Regions from separate parts of the Homo sapiens genome. Here region 2 is linked to region 1. The links are contacts of gene promoters, found by promoter capture Hi-C in human tissues and cell types (Jung and others, 2019). All regions are on one chromosome and are shown on one strand. Each heading gives the region's core, a stretch centred on a gene start or on the middle of the fragment in contact. The rest is flanking DNA. Distances are from core to core; before and after follow the strand shown.

What was found. Contacts are between HindIII fragments. The study calls those that stand out against the background at their distance.
Region 2: a fragment that was not itself captured here is called in contact with the fragment with the promoter of OR9A2 in region 1 in 1 of the 25 tissues and cell types used here (spleen).

The regions. Positions count from the first base shown.
Region 1 is chr7:143,025,074-143,030,739 of GRCh38, reverse strand. It overlaps OR9A2 (olfactory receptor family 9 subfamily A member 2), which reads left to right and starts at 3,608. Exons shown (of 1, transcript NM_001001658.1): 1 at 3,608-4,540. The coding sequence starts at 3,608. The coding sequence ends at 4,540. LOC105375544 (a long non-coding RNA gene) reads left to right here. Exons shown (of 2, transcript XR_001745395.1): 2 at 1-1,480. The HindIII fragment of the contact is 7,003 bases long and covers 1-5,666 here.
Region 2 is chr7:144,400,538-144,406,076 of GRCh38, reverse strand. It overlaps NOBOX (NOBOX oogenesis homeobox), which reads left to right and starts at 2,384. Exons shown (of 8, transcript NM_001436401.1): 1 at 2,384-2,420; 2 at 4,480-5,031. The coding sequence starts at 2,384. The HindIII fragment of the contact is 4,832 bases long and covers 1-4,066 here.

The sequences.
Region 1 (5,666 bases), core at 2,359-4,858:
GTACTTACTTTACTTACAAGTACATGTTTATGTACTTACAAATATCTAAGAATATTTATAGCATCATTTTTTCATAATTAAAAATGGAAACAACAATGAAAATTAATTAATAAATGTCTATCTAATAAAGAATAGGACATCCACATAATGGAATCCTATGTTAAAAAAAAAAGAGGTAGAGTAATATGTGCTGACATGGAAAGATATATTTTATATGTTGTTAAATGAGAAAGAAAAGGTTGCAAACAGATTTTCACAGCCTTTACGAAAAAGAATATGGAGATACATGCTTGGAAAATTTCTCTAAAATTATATGGCAAGTATTTGGGCTTGGGCAATTTAAGGAATTGGAAGAAAGATTAATCCCAATTTATACCCTTAGGCACCAATTGAAATTCTCAGATTTAACAGGTGTACTTAAAATACTTAAAATGAAAACAAAAATGCAGACAAATGTTTTGTAATTCCTACTTTTTCTGTCTTACTCCAGCATTAGACAGATTTCCAACTTACATTTTGTCAGTTCCTCCAGGTTGCAAACAGAACTGTGTACATAAGCTGTCCTTATGCTCTCTCTACTTTGCAGTGGTCCAGCTGGTAATCAGGGACATGCCATAGGAAAAAAAAAAGTCTGGAAGAATCTTGCTGGAATGCATACAGATGCACATATATCAAGAGGAGTGAAAACCTGAGACAATAGAACAGAATAGAGTTCGATTTAGGGGAGGGACCTCTTACAGTATTCTGTAGGGTCCACAGGACTAAACGCAGGAGCCTTTTTAAAATGAATGAAGGAGTCATCAGGCTTTTTAGAAGATATTTGGTGAAGTTAAGGCTTTGACCAAGACCAATATGCAGACTTTTTTGGGATATTGGTGCATGTTTTAGAGGCCAATTGTGGTGTCTCCTACTGGGGGAAAAGGGTTGATTTAGGCTCCGAATAACTAGAGAAACTTGAGAAAAGCCTAAGATAAACGACAGAGGTAGTTGACTGTTTAGAATCTGAGACATCTGGAAACCTAGACCTGAGGTTTTCAGGAAGGCAGCCCCAGTATTAAGAAGTCCCTGATTGGTAAGATTTCAGGTTTTCCCGTCAAACAAAAACTTTCAAAAGTTCTAAAACTTAATTGGTCAAAAAATGGGAATAACTTAAAGTTTGTTCTGCTCCCACTAGACTGATTGCCTGGGGACTCCCTGAACGTGGGCTAATTAAGAAGTAGTAACTCGGTGATTAAGTACCCTTGGGAAGAAGGGAAGAGGGAGGAGAGGGGAGAGAGAGAGGACCCTCAACTTTGCCCAACACTCATTTCTGGGCTTTTTCCTAAGCTCCTCTGGGAGGACATTTCCCTTCTTCGCCATGAGTGGGGATTGCAGCAACTTGTTCTGGCCCCTGTGCATGGCTCAGCACTAGCAGGACAGGAGGTAGCCTCAGCGGAGCCCTAGAGAACATCAGAAGAGGCGGCGAAGCCCCTCTGTAAAGGTGAGTGTCTTTCCAAGGGGTCTCCTCTATGAAGAAGAGGGTAAAAGCATTTTAGGATGGGACATCCTGGGCCTGCCTATCTTCTAGAACAAAGTCACCCAGATATTGAAGTGTGGGCTAGGGGAGCAGTAGAGTGTATAGGCTCATCTCCAGACCCTTCCTGCATAGCAGAGAGCACTTCCGGCTCCTCTTGGACCCAATGCTAACACAGTCACGGCTCCCTGACAGTCGGTGTCCTTCTCGCTCATGTTTCTTCATCTCGTGCTGGTTATGCAGAGGTTGTGGAAAACCAGAACACTGAGCTTTCCCATCAATTCTGTCCCTGAAGCTTTTTAAACCATTAGTAAAACAGTGACGTAGACAGGGAAGGGGTTACCTAAGCAAGGGAAGGGCAGGAGGGAAAATGGTAATGTGAGGCAGGAAGGAAAACCAACCAGAATAGGATTGAGGGAATGTGGCCCAGGCCCTGGCCAGAACAAGTATTATTTAATCATATATTATCCATCCATCCATCCATACCTCATCTAGCAAAATTTGTCAGCACTACTTATTTTATGTATATGATACATATATCTTATGTATTTAAATATCTTATAAATAAAAAATATATGTATATTTTATATAATATAAGATATATTTCATATATCTTATTTCATATATCTTATATAAATAAGATAAATAATATAAGATAATAATATAATATAAGGTGTGGTAGTTAGCTGTGTGAGTGATGAAATCTGACAGACCTAGGTTCAAATCTTGACTCACACAGCTATTAGTTCGGTTACCTTGTGATAAATTAATACATAATTTAATATATAAGATATATCTATGATATATTCATTTCACATAATGTATCTGTCTATATCTATATAAAAGATATATGATATATATATATAAAATATATAACTACTTAATTTATGTATGTACATTTTATGTGCCAGCCTCAGAATACAACAGTGAAGACATGTCCTAGCCCTCATGGAGTTTATATTCTAATGCCGTTGATAAATAATAAATACACTTAAATTTCCTCTCCTTCTTTCTTGCTTATTTTTTTCCCTGTGACATGATAAGCAAACTAAACTATTGCATATTTTACTTAGGTGTCTTGTGTGTGGTCTAGCCCCCACCTCTTCCTTGAATATAAGCTCCACAGGGCATGGAATTTTCTTTGTTCTGTTCATGACTACATTTGTTTATTGTTAAATAAAGGAATGAAGTAAATAATTAGACATAATACAAGGTAATAACAACTGTTATTAAAAAAATGGAAGTCCAATAATAAGTGTGTCTTTTCTGTTTTGGGCAGAGTGATTGGAAAGAGTCTTTGGAAAGGGTGACATTTGAATAATGGAATGAAGCGACAGGCAGAGAGCCAGGCATCCTTAACAGCTGGCGGTCCCAGATCTATTCCTTTTCTGTGCCAGGTGCCATCTTTCCTTCCTCCCACAACTTTGGAAGGAAAATGGAATTAGAGAAGAATGGATCTGTTCTGGGAAATTATCCCAAGCTCTAGAGTTCTCATTTAGAGATCTTGCTGTTCTGTAAAATGGAGATTTTAAAATCTGGAACAGCAGAGATGTTAGTCTTACATCCTCTGCCTCCTTTCTGCTGGCCCCAAAGGTGGGTCTATGCATTACCATTACAGATGAGAGCTGGGGTTTAAAATTCTGTCCTTTGAACATCATATAAAATGCCTTTGTGTCATCTTGCACAGTTAACCTAAGAGAAAGTAACTCCAGGACCGGAGGGACCTGATTGACTCACCTTTAAAACTGGCCTATTTAAAAGGTCTTAGCCTCTGCCCCCGAGAGAAGGTATATTTAATGGGGAAAAAGGCAAGGAAGGTATTTCACCACCAGTAGAAGAAGATGTCTTCACCCATTCTAGGGGGCTGGTTACACAGGGAAGTGAGAGCCTCACTTGTAGACTTGGGATGACAACATGTACCTCAAGCTATGTATGTGCCGACCACAGTAGCAGGGACATGTCACCTGATTCTCAGGTTGGAAATAGTTTCTTAACCTAATTTTTCTTCCTTCTCTCTTGAGAGCAGGACCATGTGGAGCAATGCCACCTCTCTTTTAATCTCTGGGCTTCAAAACAAGCAGAATCAAGGACTAAATGATGGACAACCACTCTAGTGCCACTGAATTCCACCTTCTAGGCTTCCCTGGGTCCCAAGGACTACACCACATTCTTTTTGCTATATTCTTTTTCTTCTATTTAGTGACATTAATGGGAAACACGGTCATCATTGTGATTGTCTGTGTGGATAAACGTCTGCAGTCCCCCATGTATTTCTTCCTCAGCCACCTCTCTACCCTGGAGATCCTGGTCACAACCATAATTGTCCCCATGATGCTTTGGGGATTGCTCTTCCTGGGATGCAGACAGTATCTTTCTCTACATGTATCGCTCAACTTTTCCTGTGGGACCATGGAGTTTGCATTACTTGGAGTGATGGCTGTGGACCGTTATGTGGCTGTGTGTAACCCTTTGAGGTACAACATCATTATGAACAGCAGTACCTGTATTTGGGTGGTAATAGTGTCATGGGTGTTTGGATTTCTTTCTGAAATCTGGCCCATCTATGCCACATTTCAGTTTACCTTCCGCAAATCAAATTCATTAGACCATTTTTACTGTGACCGAGGGCAATTGCTCAAACTGTCCTGCGATAACACTCTTCTCACAGAGTTTATCCTTTTCTTAATGGCTGTTTTTATTCTCATTGGTTCTTTGATCCCTACGATTGTCTCCTACACCTACATTATCTCCACCATCCTCAAGATCCCGTCAGCCTCTGGCCGGAGGAAAGCCTTCTCCACTTTTGCCTCCCACTTCACCTGTGTTGTGATTGGCTATGGCAGCTGCTTGTTTCTCTACGTGAAACCCAAGCAAACACAGGGAGTTGAGTACAATAAGATAGTTTCCCTGTTGGTTTCTGTGTTAACCCCCTTCCTGAATCCTTTCATCTTTACTCTTCGGAATGACAAAGTCAAAGAGGCCCTCCGAGATGGGATGAAACGCTGCTGTCAACTCCTGAAAGATTAGCTGTTCTGTAAGTCAGTTTTAGGTGGTCCAAGCCTCAGGGTTAATTATTAAGTCACCTAGAAAATTCTAACTCCTCTTTTCTCTTATCCTCTCATTACAAAAGTCAAAGAGTGTGTACAATTCGCCATCACACCATGGAAGTAGATTAGGCTGGTAATAATGAAATCCATTGTCTGTCCAGGAGACTCTCATAGCCTTAGTTCCTGCCTGTTTCCACTGTTGAACATATTCTTGTGATTTGGGGGGGACTAGAGAAAGGAAATGCAGACATTTTTGTAAGAATTCTATTAGCCCAACTCATTTCCTCATAGTCCATCTCTGAAAATGTATTTTCTGGGGAAGGGAGGAAGTGTGGAGGGAGGTGTACTGAGAAAGGTGTCCTAATCAGAGTAGAAAGGTAGAGATGCTCACTTTGGTCCTTCATCACCTGTTGCTAAGTTCTTCCCTATATTTTTGTGCAATTTTTTGGCAAGATGGCCATATGCATTTTAGATATCCTAAAGCTCTTTCTCTCTGCCCCATTGATACTGGAAAGGAAGTGTAACACTGTTTACGTTTTGTCACAGAACCAGTCTAGAATGGCGATATGAGGATTGGAATGCTTCTCATTCAGGAGATATTTGTGGTGTAAAGAAGATAAAAATATTTGAGGATAAAAATGGAGGAAAATTTATTTTTGTTAAGCTTCAGCATATTCCTTTCACTGCCCTTCTTTGTGGTGAGTATAGGGACAGGGGCAAATAAGAACTAAATGACTAATTCTAGAGAGCATCCTGTATTTTATGGCTGTTAAACACAACTATGTCTGTTCAGACTGTATCCAGATCTAGACTTCAAACTTTATAATGTCTTTTGATTCTCCGTCTCTCAAATCCAACAGTCTCAGTACCATCATGTGTATCTTCTCTGTGGGCAGAATTTTTTAAAAATAAGAGGCCATTCTTTTGACTCCCGGCTTTCTAGAAATTATAGGGATTGGCTGTTTGGTAGTGTAACTGTTGGAATTTCACATAATATTGGAAGAAGTCCTTATAAGGAAGAAGTTTACCTAAACAACAACAATCAGCAGATTCTACCAGCCCTAAAGTAAGTGAGAAAATTGAGCTGTTCAGCAGTGGGATGATGA
Region 2 (5,539 bases), core at 401-2,900, 1.4 Mb before region 1:
TTATTTTCAGTTTAATGTGACAGGATAATCTGTTAAGAAATTAATTGCACCCGCTTCTCACTGCAGCAGACACCTCAGTAAAGGGCAAAAGGTCATTTCCTTTCCCCACACAGGCCCCTACCATCCCTTGCCCCTACTCCTATCCCCAGGATAGTTTTTAACTGACTTAGTTTTTGCAAAGTCTAAAAGTGTCTCAAACTCTGAAACGCACAAAAATTACCTGAGGGGATTCAAATGGATGTTTCTGGGTACCTCCTTGGACCAACCAATTAAGATTTCTGGGGATTGGAACCCCCATTTTAAACAAATTCCCTAAGAAATTCTGATCCAGGGGGTTTTAAGAACATTCTTTGAGAAACATTAGGCCAAAAAAGACATACACACACCACCACTGAAATACCCAGGTGGGCAACACAGGGGAGCTGAGGATCCAGGGGAAAGACCCAGATGTCAGAGCTTGCCGTTCATCCTGGCAGTCAGGGGTCACTGTCAGGTTTTAAGCGGGACTGTGATGTGGTAAACTCCACAGCTCATAGCCCACGTGTCACCTTCTCCAAGAAGCTTCCATCCTAGTCCAGAAGGGGTTCCTGCTCCTCCGTACTCCATAGTAGCCTTTCATACTTCTAACTCACCACTGACCACACTACCCTGACATGATCATTTGATGATCTTCCCTCCACCAGTAAGCTTCTGTGAGCAAGGACGTGCCTGGGTTCCATTTACCATGTCGCCACCAAATGGTCCTGATTTTTCACCATCAAATGATCCTGGAAGCAATGTCAGTGCCCCACAACTGCTTGCTCACTTGTCCTGGAATGCTTCATTTCTAGCACAGAAACTGGGCCCCATCTATCTGAACGCCTCATAAAACAGAAGCTATCCGCCTTATGGAAGGCATCAGAATGAAACAGCAGATGCCTGAAGTCTTGATCATATTCGAAGTTAGTTTACATTTTTGTGTTTCAGAAAGAACTAAAGGTCTCACAATCCTCCAAAGTCCACATGTGTAGGCCAAGCCCCTCAAGGCAATTAAAGGAATAGGAAAATGTACCCACAGCTGATTTCAGCATGAAAGCACGTGGTGTCCAGAGTCTTTTAAATCCTTAAAGCAAAACACCTGGATTCTGTTCCAGGCCGCCCCGCTCCCCACCCAGCTCCAAGCACCTGTTTCTATCTGACCAGCCCTCCGACTTTCTACCCCTCCCCGCTCAGAAGAGGCAAGAATTTTTAAATTCTGATTTTGTTTGTATAAAGATAGTAAGAAACATTCCGTGAACCAGGAATCATAAGGCTGCACCCCTGTGAGATCTCCCCCAAGAAAGTCCCTTCCATTCTCAGAGAATAAAATCGAAACACCAAATGGATGGAAACACAGTAACCACACCGTCCCTGGCAGGGCCGCCCCTGGCTGTACCTGAATTTCCTGTGTGTGGACTGTACCGGATCTACGGAGTCTGTGGCTCTTTCAGCTCCTTCTTCATCATCCGGTGCAGCCTTTGTGCTCTGGAGACCCTCAAATCAGTACGGGGGGCGAGCGCTGTGGCTCACGCCTGTAATTCCAGCAGTTTGGGAAGCCCAGGCGGGCAGATAACTTGAAGTCAGGAGTTCTAGCCCAGCCTAGCCAACGTGGTGAAACCCCGTCTCTACTAAAAATACAAAAAATTAGCCGGGCGTGGTGGCGGGCGCCTGTAGTCCCAGCTACTCGCGAGGCTGAGGCAGGAGAATCGCTTGAACCCGGGAGGCAGAGGTTGCAGTGAGCCGAGATCCCCCACTGCACTCCAGCCTGGGCGACAGAGCAAGACTCCGTCTCAAAAACAAAAACAAACAAAATCAGGAAGGGGACTTTGAAGCTCCTTAATACTGAGGCTTGGAGGGGCCCTAGCATGGGAGTTGGGCAACCCAGCGCTTCCCCTTTGAGGAGTGGCTCTAGAAATCGCCTTCCACAGTCCACAGGGAAGGGCTTTAGCCACGATCCAGGACTGAGTCCTCCATAGGGTGTGGGTGAGCCCCACGGCTGGGCCCAGCCCCCCGAAGACCACCGGGTAGCCTCGCTCCCGCCTCCCACCCCAGCCTCGCCCTCCAGCCCCGCCACGGGAGGGGCCGCCTGAAGGAGACCCGCACCTGGGCCTGGGCTCCTGGCTGGGGGGAGCGGAGCAGGCGGCGCCCAGGCCCGGGTCCTCCCCGCCCTCGCAGCTGCCCCAGCCGAGCCTCCCGGGCCGGCCTCGCCCTGGGGGTGGGGGTGGGGGTGAGGGGGCGCAGCCTCGGGCTACGGCTCCCCCGGCCCGGCCCGGCCCGTGCGGGCTGCACACCTGCCCGCCCGGCGAGGCTTCATTAGGCCGCGCCTGTGCATCACGGGCCGGCCGCGGCGGCGGGAGTCCAGGCCATGGAACCCACAGAGAATCCCTGCCAGGGACCGCTGGGTGAGTGTGGAGACCCCGTCGTGCGAGGGGGTCAGGCTTTGGGGGTTCGGGGAGGGGGGGAGGCCTGTGATCACCAGGTCAGCGTTAGCCGACCTAAGAGCTTCAGTAGGCCGAGGGCCGGGTGGAGTCGGGTGGGGTAGGGTGGGAGGAGGCCGACCTCACTGCCCCCTGTGCTTTGGGATTGCAACCCCCCTCCCCGCTCCCCCGCGCCCCCTGCCCGCCTCCAGTCTCCCAGCGCGCAGGGGAGAGAACCCTGGGAGCCCCAGGACCCTTCTAGTCTTAGGTCTGACACCCGTCCCCTTCTTACTAGCGCACATCACTCCCATAGGACACGTGCTTACGGAGCACCCACAGTGCTGGGTACCAGGCTTTTTGCTACAGTACAAGCTCTCCTAAAATGCTGTAAAACAAATTTGTCCCTGCTTCCCCACACCACCAGCCAGCTTTGTCCCTTCACTCCATAGAGGCCTGCTCACCCTCTTCACCAGCCCAGACCCTCTCATGCAAGTCGGGTCCAGCCTGTGTCCTAGGAAAGGACTTGGAACAGCACCCTTGACCATGACCTTTTTCCTTGACACTCTGTTACAAAGTCATTCCTAGGGTCAGGCGCAGTGGCTCAAGTCTGTAATCCCAGCACGTTGGGAGGGCGAGGCTGGTGGACCACCTGAGGTCAGGAGTTGGAGACCAGCCTGGCCAACATGGCAAAACCCCATCTCTACTAAAAATACAAAAATTAGCTGGGTGTGGTGGCACACACCTGTAATCCCAGCTACTTGGGAGGCAGAGGCACGAGAATCGCTTGAACCCAGGGGGCCAAGGTTGCAGTGAGCCAGAATTGCACCATGTCACTGCAGCCTGGGCGACGGAGCGAGACTCCATCTCAAAAAAAAAAAAAAAAAAAAAAAAAATGTTATTCCTTAAGACCTATCTCATGCAATTTTCATTAAAGTAACAGTAGCTCTTAGTCGTTACTTAGCATTCATTACAAATGTTCCAATTTAGTTGGAAATGATAAAGCAGCTCCCTGAGCTGAGGGTTCTTGGAGTTATGAGTCAGTTGGGAGGTGAAAGTGGGGGGATCATTTGATGGCCCCAGGAAGGACTCCATGTGGTGATTAAGTACACAGAGTACGTGCTCAGGGTGCTGTGTGATCTTGGACATATTACTCTGCTGTCTCATCCTCATTTCTTCATCTGTTAGAAGGGAATATTAGCAGTGCCGTTCTTGCAGAGATTAAATATGCACTGTGCTAATCTTTGAAAGGTGCTTAGCGCCATGCCTGGAACATGATAAGCTCCCAATGCATCAGTCAGCTCACAGAAAGGAAGGCAAGCTTTAGGGATGAGTGGTAGGGTTTTTAGTTCTAGCTGGGTCCCAGTTTCCTTACTCGAAAGAGAGGTTTACCAGAGAGTGAGATCCTGCTTTGCAGGGAGGGGGAGGAAGTGGATGTGCTGGATGGTAGTGGGGTGGGGGGTGCGGGCGGGGGGGCATGTATGGAGCTGAGGAGAGTTGGCAGAGACAGAGTTCCATGGTTCTCCCTGTTATCTCTTTTGATGCTCTTGCCTCGGCTGCTGGAGACAATCGAATCCTTTCTTGTCCCTTCTCCAAGCAATAATGCCTGTTGTGCAGCAGAAACAGCATCCCGCCTTGGGAGAAGCAGAATCTCTGTCAATCTGTTTCTCTTTGTCTTCCTGGTCCATCCGCAGCCCCAACATGATCCCTTAGAGATACCTGAACAGTCCCTCAAACTCATACCCCTGGTGTCTGGGAAAAGGGAACTCACAAGGGGTGAGTACCCCCAAATTAGGAGATACCATGAGCTAACGCCGTCTCAGAATTGCATAAATTTGTCTACATTTTTCAAAGAAGTTGGGTTATCTGATTTAATCCTCACAATAGTCAAGCTAGGAAGGTAAGTGTGGAATTATTACCCCATTTGATAGGTAGACAAATTAAAGCTTAAGATCAAACCGTTTGCAAAGCAGGAAGCAGCACTTCCTCTTGGTCCAGTTCTTCCTTCTCCCTGGTGCTAAGGTCAGTGGATGTTGGCTCCCCACAGGCCAGAAAGCTGGAGAGAAGCCCCTGGCTGCAGGACCCGGGGAGGAGGAACTGCTCCGGGGCTCAGCCCCTCATGCTCAGGACACTCAGAGTGAGGAACTGCCACCCTCCTGCACCATCTCAGGAGAGAAGAAGCCGCCAGCAGTCTCTGGAGAAGCCACCGGGGCTGATGCTGGGAGACTGTGCCCGCCCCCCCGCTCCAGGGCTCCCCACAAAGACAGAACTCTAGCCCGCTCCAGGCCCCAGACTCAGGGGGAAGATTGTTCCCTCCCAGTGGGAGAGGTGAAGATAGGAAAGAGGTCCTATTCTCCAGCCCCCGGGAAGCAGAAAAAGCCTAATGCCATGGGTCTGGCCCCAACATCATCTCCGGGTGCCCCTAACTCAGCCCGTGCCACACACAACCCAGTGCCCTGTGGGTCAGGCCGGGGGCCCTGCCACCTGGCCAATCTCCTCAGTACATTGGCGCAGAGCAACCAAAACAGAGACCACAAGCAGGGGCCCCCGGAAGTGACCTGCCAAATTAGGAAAAAGACACGAACCCTATACCGCTCAGGTAAGTCCCTAAAGAGAGGAAACCGAAGAGATCTGGGGTCATCCTGGGGAAAGGTGGGGCTGTGTGAAGAATCTACCCCCAGGAGACCTGAGGGATGGGGTTAGTTTGTATGTCACTTCGTCCCGGATTCTCTCTTGGGCCGCGGTAGTGCAACTATCTCTGACCCTCAGAGGGAAGGTTGGGTTATCACATCAGAAAATGAGGCTGGAGCCAGGCACAGTGGCTCATGCCTGTAATCCCAGCACTTTGGGAGGCCGAGGCAGGTGGATTACCTGAAGTCAGGAGTTTGAGACCAGCCTGGCCATCATGGTGAAACCCCGCCTCTACTGAAAATACAAACATTAGCCAGACATGCTGGCCTGTGCCTGTAATCCCAGCTATTTGGTAGGTCGAAGCAGGGGAATTGCTTGAACCTGGGAGGCAGAGGTTGCAATGAGCTGAGATTGCGCCACTGCACTCCAGCCTGGGCAACAGAGTGAGACTCCGTCTAAAAAAGAAAAAAAGAAAA